3 separate regions of the Homo sapiens genome follow, and all the other regions are linked to region 2. The links are contacts of gene promoters, found by promoter capture Hi-C in human tissues and cell types (Jung and others, 2019). All regions are on one chromosome and are shown on one strand. Each heading gives the region's core, a stretch centred on a gene start or on the middle of the fragment in contact. The rest is flanking DNA. Distances are from core to core; before and after follow the strand shown.

The links. The method cuts DNA at HindIII sites, captures the fragments that hold promoters and counts their contacts. A contact is called where the count stands out against the background at its distance.
Region 1: a contact is called between a fragment that was not itself captured here and the fragment with the promoter of CYP2F1 in region 2, in 2 of the 25 tissues and cell types used here (IMR-90 fibroblasts and aorta).
Region 3: a contact is called between a fragment that was not itself captured here and the fragment with the promoter of CYP2F1 in region 2, in 2 of the 25 tissues and cell types used here (psoas muscle and spleen).

The regions. Positions count from the first base shown.
Region 1 is chr19:41,171,624-41,174,323 of GRCh38, forward strand. All of the region lies in intron 2 of LOC124904790, which reads right to left. Among named protein-coding and RNA genes, the nearest start is that of CYP2S1, 20 kb to the right of the region's middle. The HindIII fragment of the contact is 4,900 bases long and covers 1-2,700 here.
Region 2 is chr19:41,113,071-41,115,859 of GRCh38, forward strand. It overlaps CYP2F1 (cytochrome P450 family 2 subfamily F member 1), which reads left to right and starts at 1,362. Exons shown (of 10, transcript NM_000774.5): 1 at 1,362-1,422. The HindIII fragment of the contact is 13,902 bases long and covers 1-2,789 here.
Region 3 is chr19:41,149,329-41,152,178 of GRCh38, forward strand. All of the region lies in intron 2 of LOC124904790, which reads right to left. Among named protein-coding and RNA genes, the nearest start is that of CYP2F1, 36 kb to the left of the region's middle. The HindIII fragment of the contact is 5,706 bases long and covers 1-2,850 here.

The DNA.
Region 1 (2,700 bases), core at 63-2,562, 59 kb after region 2:
ATTCAAATGTAGTTCATCAAAGACACCAGGAAGGGCTGGGCGCAGTGGCTCACGCCTGTAATCCCAGAACTTTGAGAGGCTAAGGCGGCAGATCCCTGAGATGGGGAGTTTGGCAGATCCCTGAGATGGGGAGTTTGAGACCAGCCTGACCAACATGGAGAAACCCCATCTCTATTAAAAATACAAAATTGGCTGGGTGTGGTGTCACATGCCTGTAATCCCAGCTACTCAGAGGCTGAAGCAGGAGAATCCCTTTAACCTGGGAGCCAGAGGTTGCGGTGAGCCGAGATCGCGCCATTGCACTCCAGCCTGGGCAACAAGAGCGAAACTCCAATTCAAAAAAAAAAAAAAAGGCACCAGGAAAAGAGTAAAACAGGGCCGGGCACGGAGGCCCACGCCTTTAATCCCAGCACTTTGGGAGGCCAAGGCGGGCGGATCACTTGTGTCCAGGAGTTCCAGACCAGCCTGGTCAACATGGTGAAACCCCGTCTCTACAAAAAATACAAAAATTAGCCCAGTCTGGTGGCATGCGCCTGTAGTCCCAGCTACTTGGGAGGCTAAAGTGAGAGGATCACTGGAGCTTGGGAGGTTGAGGTTGCAGGGAGCTGAGATCGTGCCACTGCACTCCAGCCTGGGCAAGAGAGTGAGACCTTGTCTCAAAAAAAAAAAAAAAGAAAGAAAGAAAATTGTAGGTGAAGGTAGAAGTATCTCCAGTGATCTTCAAGACTGGCACAATATTCTAAAAAGATACATTTGAACATAAAAATAAATGTTAACCAGACATCGTTTTTAGAATTATACAATACAAATTCTGGTGGGGAGTTGGCTGAGAGCCCCTCCTCCAGCTTCCTGGTGGTGGCGGTGTTCCACCTCCTGGGTCCCCACCCTCAGTCTCCCTTGCTCTGCCTTCTCCCCCACCCCACCTCCACATGCTAGAAACCAGGTCCTCTTCTCACCCTCTCTCCCAGGTGAGCCTGGTCACTCACAGAGCTGCAGAATCTGCTGTCTGTCTGCCAAGGACTCCCAACTCTGTGTCCACAGCAAGGATCTGTGCTAAACCACACTGGCCTTGCTGGGCCTCCAGCGCCATACACTCCCTCTTATGGCTTGTAACAGGTGTTTCCCCACCTGGAATGTTTGCTCTCCTCTCTCCTCCAAAGTCCTGCCCCTCCCTGAGGTGAGAAATCAGTTCCCCCACCTCCCCCACAGCCCCAGCACTCTGTGCTGAAATCATCATCAAAAACCCTGGTCTCCTCCAATCCCTCCTGCTACCCTCTCAGCCACCCAACATGCTATTCCCCCTGCAGGAACACTCTTCCCCATGATCTTTCTCGAGTCATTCTTCAGATCCATGTATCCCCTCCTCCAGGAAGCCCTCCCTGATACTCACCACTCTCCGGCCAGGGCAGGCACTTACTCTGGGCTCCCACAGGCCCCCTGGCCTCCCCCATCCCAGCCCCGACCACTCTGGGCAGTCAAGGTCTGGTGACTAACCTGCCTCCTCAACTGGACTGTGGGCCCCATGGGGGTAGGGCTGTCTCTGTCTCTACTGCCTCCCCAGCATCACCCAGTCAGGCCTGGATGCAGGCCTGGCATCAACTCTGCATAAAGGAGCGGAGGTCAGGAGTTCCCTGGGGCCTCAGTGCCTGGCACTGGTGGAGGGGCTTTCTGCATGCCACACTCTGGATCTTCTCCAGCTACTCCTTATTCTGGAAGCTGCAGCATGTTGAAATAAAAACTGGAACTAAATGGAGATGGAATGGACTTCACATTTGGACACATGGGTGTGTAAAGAGGAACGTGACTTCTCCAAAGTAACGCATAGAGGCCGGGCGCAGTGGCTCACGCATGTAATCCCAGCACTTTGGGAGGCCGAGGCAGGCAGATCATTTGAGGTCAGGAGTTCGAGACCAGCCTGGCCAACATGGTGAAACGCCATCTCCACTATAAATACACAAATTAGCTGGGCATAGTGGCACATGCCTGTAATCCCAGCTACTCCGGAGGCTGAGGCTGAAGAATCACTTGAACCCAGGAAGCAGAGGTTGCATTGAACCAAAATCGCACCACTGCACTCCAACCTGGGTGACAGAGCGAGACTCCGTCTCAAAAAAAAAAAAAAAAAAAAGTAACACACTAACCTCCTGACCCACCCAGAGTGGGTCTTACCTTCTAGAAAGATAGAAAAGAATAGAACCAGGCCAGGCTGACTCTGGCAGCTTTAGAACAATAGTAATGGCAGGAGTGGCCGGCGATGGACAGCTGGGGGTGGGACTGAAATAGACAGCAGCCAGGGAATAGTGGGTTGAAGGGAGAAAGGGAGTTATTTTTCTGTAGTCTTTGAAATTTTATTTTTCTCTTTCCTTTTTTGGAGACAAGGTCCTGCTCTTTTGCCCAGGCTGGAGGGCCATGGCGCGATCATGGCTCACTGCAGCCTCGAACTTGAGCGATCCTCCCTCCTCAGCCTCCCAAGTAGGTGGAACTTCAGGCGTCTGCCACCACACCCAGCTAATTTTTAAATTTTTTAAATTTTTTCTAGAGATGGGGGCCTTGCTATGTTGCCCAGGCTGGTCTCGAACTCCTGAGCTCCAGCGATCCTCCCACCTTGGCCTCCGAAAGGCCTGAGCCACCGTACCCGGCTGAAATTTGTAATCAACCCATAATCATCTATTACTTATGTAACTGAATTCCTATGAAAAG
Region 2 (2,789 bases), core at 112-2,611:
GGGGCTCTCCACCCAGCCTAGCCCCTGGCACCAGAGCCCTGGCCCAGCTCCAGGTTTTGCATTCTGCCCTTGTGACCTGGCCAGGAGGTGGGTAACTAGGGCCAGTTTCTTCTTCTTTTTTTTTTTTTTTTTTTTTTGAGACCGAGTCTCACCCTGTTGCCCAGGCTGGAGTGCAGTGGCATGTTCTTAGCTCACTGCAACCTCCACCTCCCGGGTTCAAGCGATTCTCCTGCCCCAGCCTCCCAAGTAGCTCAGACTACAGGCGTGAGCCACCATGCCTGGCTAATTTTTGTATTATTAGTAGAGACAGGGTTTCACCATGTTGGCCAGGCTGGTCTTGAACTCCTGACCTCAGGTGATCCACCCACCTCGGCCTCCCAAAGTGCTGGGATTACAGGCGTGAGCCACTGCGCCTGGCCTACTAGGGTGAGTTTCTAAGGCAGGAGCTGAGAGTAGACATGGCTAGTAGGGTGCTCAGGAGGGCAGGAGGAGGGCTGTTTATGAGCCAGTGGTGGGAGAGAGTGTCATTCTAGTCTGAGAGGCTTTTTCCCTGTGGCTTCCAGCTCTGCCCTTTTCTTAAACACTCCTTCAGCCTCAGCTTGGCTTCAGTCCCACCAAGTGCAGTCTGACTCGTGGAGACATGAGAGATAGAGAGAGTGAGAGACCAGAGAGATCAGGAGACAGTGACTGAGAGGGACTTACAGGGAGATCAGGGAGAGAAGCAGAGAGAAGGAGAAAGCCCAGAGAGCATAAGAAATGAAGACCCAGAGACACCAAAGGAGGGAGAGACAGAGACACAGAGAGACAAAAAGATTCAGAGGCAGAGACTGTAGAGGCAGAAGCAAAGCAAGACACAGAGCATTTCAGAGACCCACGGCAAGAGACAGGGAACAGCATGGAGAACTATGAAAAAATAGGCTTCCAGAGAAAGAGAAAACTCCAGCTCTGGAGGGAAAGGGACTTAGCCAGGGCCACTCGGCCCATCAGTGGCAGAAATGGACTTGAACCCAGAGAAAAAGAAACAAGTGCCCCAAATACCAAAGGAACCCAGCCCCCATCCCTGGCCCATCATTTTGCGACAGCCCCATGACTACCCCAAAACCAGGCCCAGGCTCCAACTGGCAAAGCAAAAAAAAAAAACAAAGAAAGAAAGAAAGCTTTGCCCCATCCCAGGAGGGCCCCCAGGCGCAGCCCCCTCCCACGGCACCTTTCCAGCTGGCTGTGAGCCCTAGGGCCGCAGGAAAGGTATGGCAAGATGATGGGAGGGATTTAAAGTTCACAGCGAGAACAAGAAAAGTGGGGTTAAGGAGGAGGGTGTGGGCAGAAACAACTTAAGAACAACCTCTGCCCCACCACCCCCCAAGCACACCCAGAGCTGCAGGCTCTAGCGCATCCCAGCCAGTGTCTCCTGCAGCTCAGCAGGTAAAGGGCCCCGGTGAGGGAGGCAGAGAAGGAGGGGGTGTCTCCCAAGAGAGGGTGGGTCGCCAGCTCCAATCTCTGTCTCTGAGACTGGCTAGGAATCTTTTTTGCTGTTTCCTCTGAGAGCTCTCATGTCCCTGTTCTGAGCACTGGGATTTCTTTACTGGTGCTTCACCAAGTAGGTGGCTTCTCTCTCTGCAATGCAACCCCATGGTTGGCAACACTTGATTTTTTCCTGTCACTGTTTCTGCCTGTGCCCTTCCTCTCTGTCTCCGTCTCTTTCTCTCTCTCTCTCTCTCTTTTTTTTTTTTTTTTTTTTTTTGAGGCTGGAGTGCAGTGGTTCAATCTCAGCTCACTGCAACCTCCACCTCCTGGGTTCAAGCGATTCTCCTGCCTCAGCCTCCTGAGTAGCTGGGATTACAGGTGCCTAACACCACGCCTGACTAATTTTTGTGTTTTTAGTAGAGACAGGGTTTCACCATGTTGGCCAGGCTGGTCTCAAACTCCTGACCTCAAGTGATCCGCCTGCCTCGGCCTCCCAGAGTGCTGGGATTACAGGCGTGAGCCACCGTGCCCGGCCTCAGTCTCTCTTGGTCTGCCCTTTGCAGCCTACCCGTCTCTTTGTGTGGCTCTAATATTCCCTGCCTCTCTTATTCTCTCTCTCTCTCTCTCCATCTCTGTCTATGTGACTCTGTCTTTGTGTATCTGTTTCTGTCTGTCATTCTCGTCTCCCTCAGTCTCTGTGTCTAGCTCTGTCTCTCCCTCTCTCTGTCCCTCTTACCCTTTTTCTCTCCATCCTTCCATGTCCCTCTCTGTCTCTCAGTCAGTGTCCATCTCACTGTCTCTCCACTCAATCTCCCTTGTCTTTCTCTAGCTCTGTGTCTGTCTAGTTCTGTCTCTTTCTTTCTCTAGTCTATGTCAGCCTCTCTCTTTCTGTGATGTGCTCTCTGGCTCTCCCTATCTCTGTGTTTGTCTGTCTCTGTCCCTGTGTGTCTTGATCTCTCTTTATCACTGTCTCTGTATGACAGTCTCTTGACAGACAGGTGATGATAGATAGATAATAGACAGATGATACACAGATGATAGATTATGAAGATAGTAGATAGATGATAGATATAGATAGATAATAGATGATAGATAATAGACAGATCAATGATAGATGATAGAAGAATAGATAGATGATGGATAGACAGATGATAGATGATAGATAGATAGATAGATGATAGATAGATGTTGATAGATGTTAGATAATAGATGAGAAACAAAGAAAGAAAGAAAAAGAAAAAAGAAAGAAAGAAAAAGAAAGGAAGGAAGGAAGGAAAGAAAGAGTGATAGATGATAGATGGCTGATAGGTAGACAGACATCTGTA
Region 3 (2,850 bases), core at 270-2,769, 36 kb after region 2:
AGCAGAGGTTGCAGTGAGCTGAGATTGCACCACTGCATTCCAGCCTGGGTGGCAGAGTGAGACTCCCACTCAAAAAAAAAAAAAAAAAAAAAAAAAAAAGAGGCCGGGCACAGTGGTTTATGGTTTATGCCTGTAATCCCAGCACTTTGGGAGGCCGAGGTGGGTGGATCACGAGGTCAGAAGATGGAGATCATCCTGGTTAACACAGTGAAACCCCGTCTCTACTAAAAATACAAAAAAATTAGCCAGGCGTGGTGGTGGGCGCCTGTAGTCCCAGCTACTTGGGAGGCTGAGGCTGGAGAATGGCGTGAACCCAGGAGGTGGAGCTTGCAGTGAGCCAAGATCGCGCCACTGCACTCCAGCAGCCTGGACAGAGTGAAACTTCGTCTCAAAAAAAAAAAAAAAAAGAAAAAGAAAAGCCAAATGGAAGGATTTATATTAATATCAAAATTTATAATAAAACTACAGTAATAGGCTGGGCACTGTGGCTCATGCCTGTAATCCCACCACTTTGGGAGGCCAATGCAAGAGCCCAGAAGTTCACTTGAGCTTAGAAGTTCAAGACCAGCCTGGGCAATATAGTGAGAACCCATCTCTACAAAAACTTAAAAAACTAGCCAGGCATGATGGCATGTGCCTGTGGTCCTAGCTATTCAGGAGGCTGAGGTGGGAGGACCGCTTGAGCCCAGGAGGTCTAGGCTGCAGTGAGTCATGATGGCACTGCTCCACTCCAGCCTGGGTGACAGGGCAAGACTCTGTCTCAAAAAAACAAAAAACCACACACACACACTACAGTAATAAAGGCAAGGTGTACTGGGATTCCGATAGAAAGAGATGAATGGAATAAACTAGGAAGTCCATAAATATGTGGTCAATAGAATTTTTTTTTCTTAGAGTTGGGGGTCTCACTGTGTTTAACAGGCTGGTCTCAAACTCTTGGACTCAAGCGATCCTCCTGCCTCAGCCTCCCTCACCTGCTTTCAATTGATTACTGACAAAGATGCTAAGATAATTCAGTGGAGAAAAGACAGTATTTTCTTTTTCTTTTTTTTTCTTTTTTTTTTTTTTTTTTTTTTTTGAGGAGTCTTGCTCTGTAGCCCAGGCTGGAGTGCAGTGGCTCAATCTTGGCTTACCGCAAACTCTGCCTCCCGGGTCCCAGTTCAAGCAATTCTCCTGCCTCACCCTCCCGAGTAGCTGGGACTACAGGCATGCATCACCATGCCCAGCTGATTTTTGTATGTTTAGTAGAGACGGGGTTTCGCCATGTTGGCCAGGCTGGTCTCGAACTCCTGACCTTGTGATTCACCCACCTTGGCCTCCCAAAGTGCTGGGATTACAGGTGTGAGCCACCACACCTGGCCAGTATTTTCAACAAATGGTAGAATGACTAAATAGCCTCATGGAAACAAAACGAACCCTGCCTTTTACTTCACATCATACACAAAAATTAACTTGAAATAGGTCAGAGATCTAAAAGTACAGACTAAAGCTAAAGAACTTCTAAAAACATATTTTCAAAACCTTGAAGTAGATCTTTTTTTTTTTTTAACATGGGACTCAAAAATCACTAATCATAAAGGAAAAAATTGACAAACTGGACTTAGTCAAAAATAATACTTTCAGCCAGGCACGGTGGCTCATGCCTCTAATCCCAACACTTTAGGAGGCCAAGGTGGGAGGATTGCTTGAACCCAGGAGTTCTAAACCAGCCTGGGCAACGTAGTGAGAACCAGTCTCTATATTTAAAATAAATAAATAAATAATAGTAGTACTTTTGCTCATCCAAAACCAGCATTAAGAAAATATACGGACCGGCCAGGCGTGGTGACTCACACCTGTGATTCCAGCACTTTGGGAGGCCAAGGCAGGCAGATCACCCGAGGTCAGGAGTTTGAGACCTGTCTGGCCAAACCCCATCTCTACTAAAAATATAAACATTAGCCGGGTGTGGTGGCACACGCCTGTAATCCCAGCTACTCAAGAGGCTGAGGCAGGAGAATTGTTTGAACCCAGGAGGCAGGGGTTGCAGTGAGCCAACATTGTGCCACTGCACTCCAGCATGGGCAACAGAGAGAGACTCCATCAAAAAAAAAAAAAAGGAAAGAAAGGAAAAGAAAAGAAGATATATAGACCAGGCACAGACCAGAAGAAAATATTCACAACACATATATCTCACAAAATAACCCGTGCCTGAAATATCTAAACAACTCCTATGGCTCAATAAAAAAAAAAAAAAAAAAGCCCAACCAGCCGGGCACGGTGGCTCACACCTGTAATCCCAGCACTTTGGGAGACCAAGGTGGGGTGGATCACGAGGTCAGGAGATCGAGACCATCCTGGCTAACATGGTGAAACCCTGTCTCTTCTAAAAAAATACAAAAAATTAGCCGGGCATGGTGGCACACGCCTGTAGTCCCAGCTACTCGGGAGGCTGAGGCAGGAGAATGGCGTGAACCTGGGAGGCGAAGCTTGCAGTGAGCCGAGATCGCGCCACTGCACTCCAGCCTGGGCGACAGAGTGAGACTGCGTCTCCAAAAAAAAAAAAAAAAAAAAAGCCCAACCAAAAAATGGCCAACAGGCTATAAAAAGGTGTTTAATGTCATTAGCCAACAGGAAACACAAATTAAAACCACACTGAGATACCACCACACACCCATAAGAAAGGCTAAATGGAAATATGCAAACAGCACCTAGTGCTGGCAAGGATCACCAGAACTCTCGTTCATGACTATGGGTGTATAAAACGTACAACTGCTTAGAAAAAGTTTCTGCAAATTTCTTAAAAGTTTAGCAGGCCAGGCGCAGTGGCTCGTGCCTGTAATCCCAGCACTTTGGGAGGCCGACGCGGGT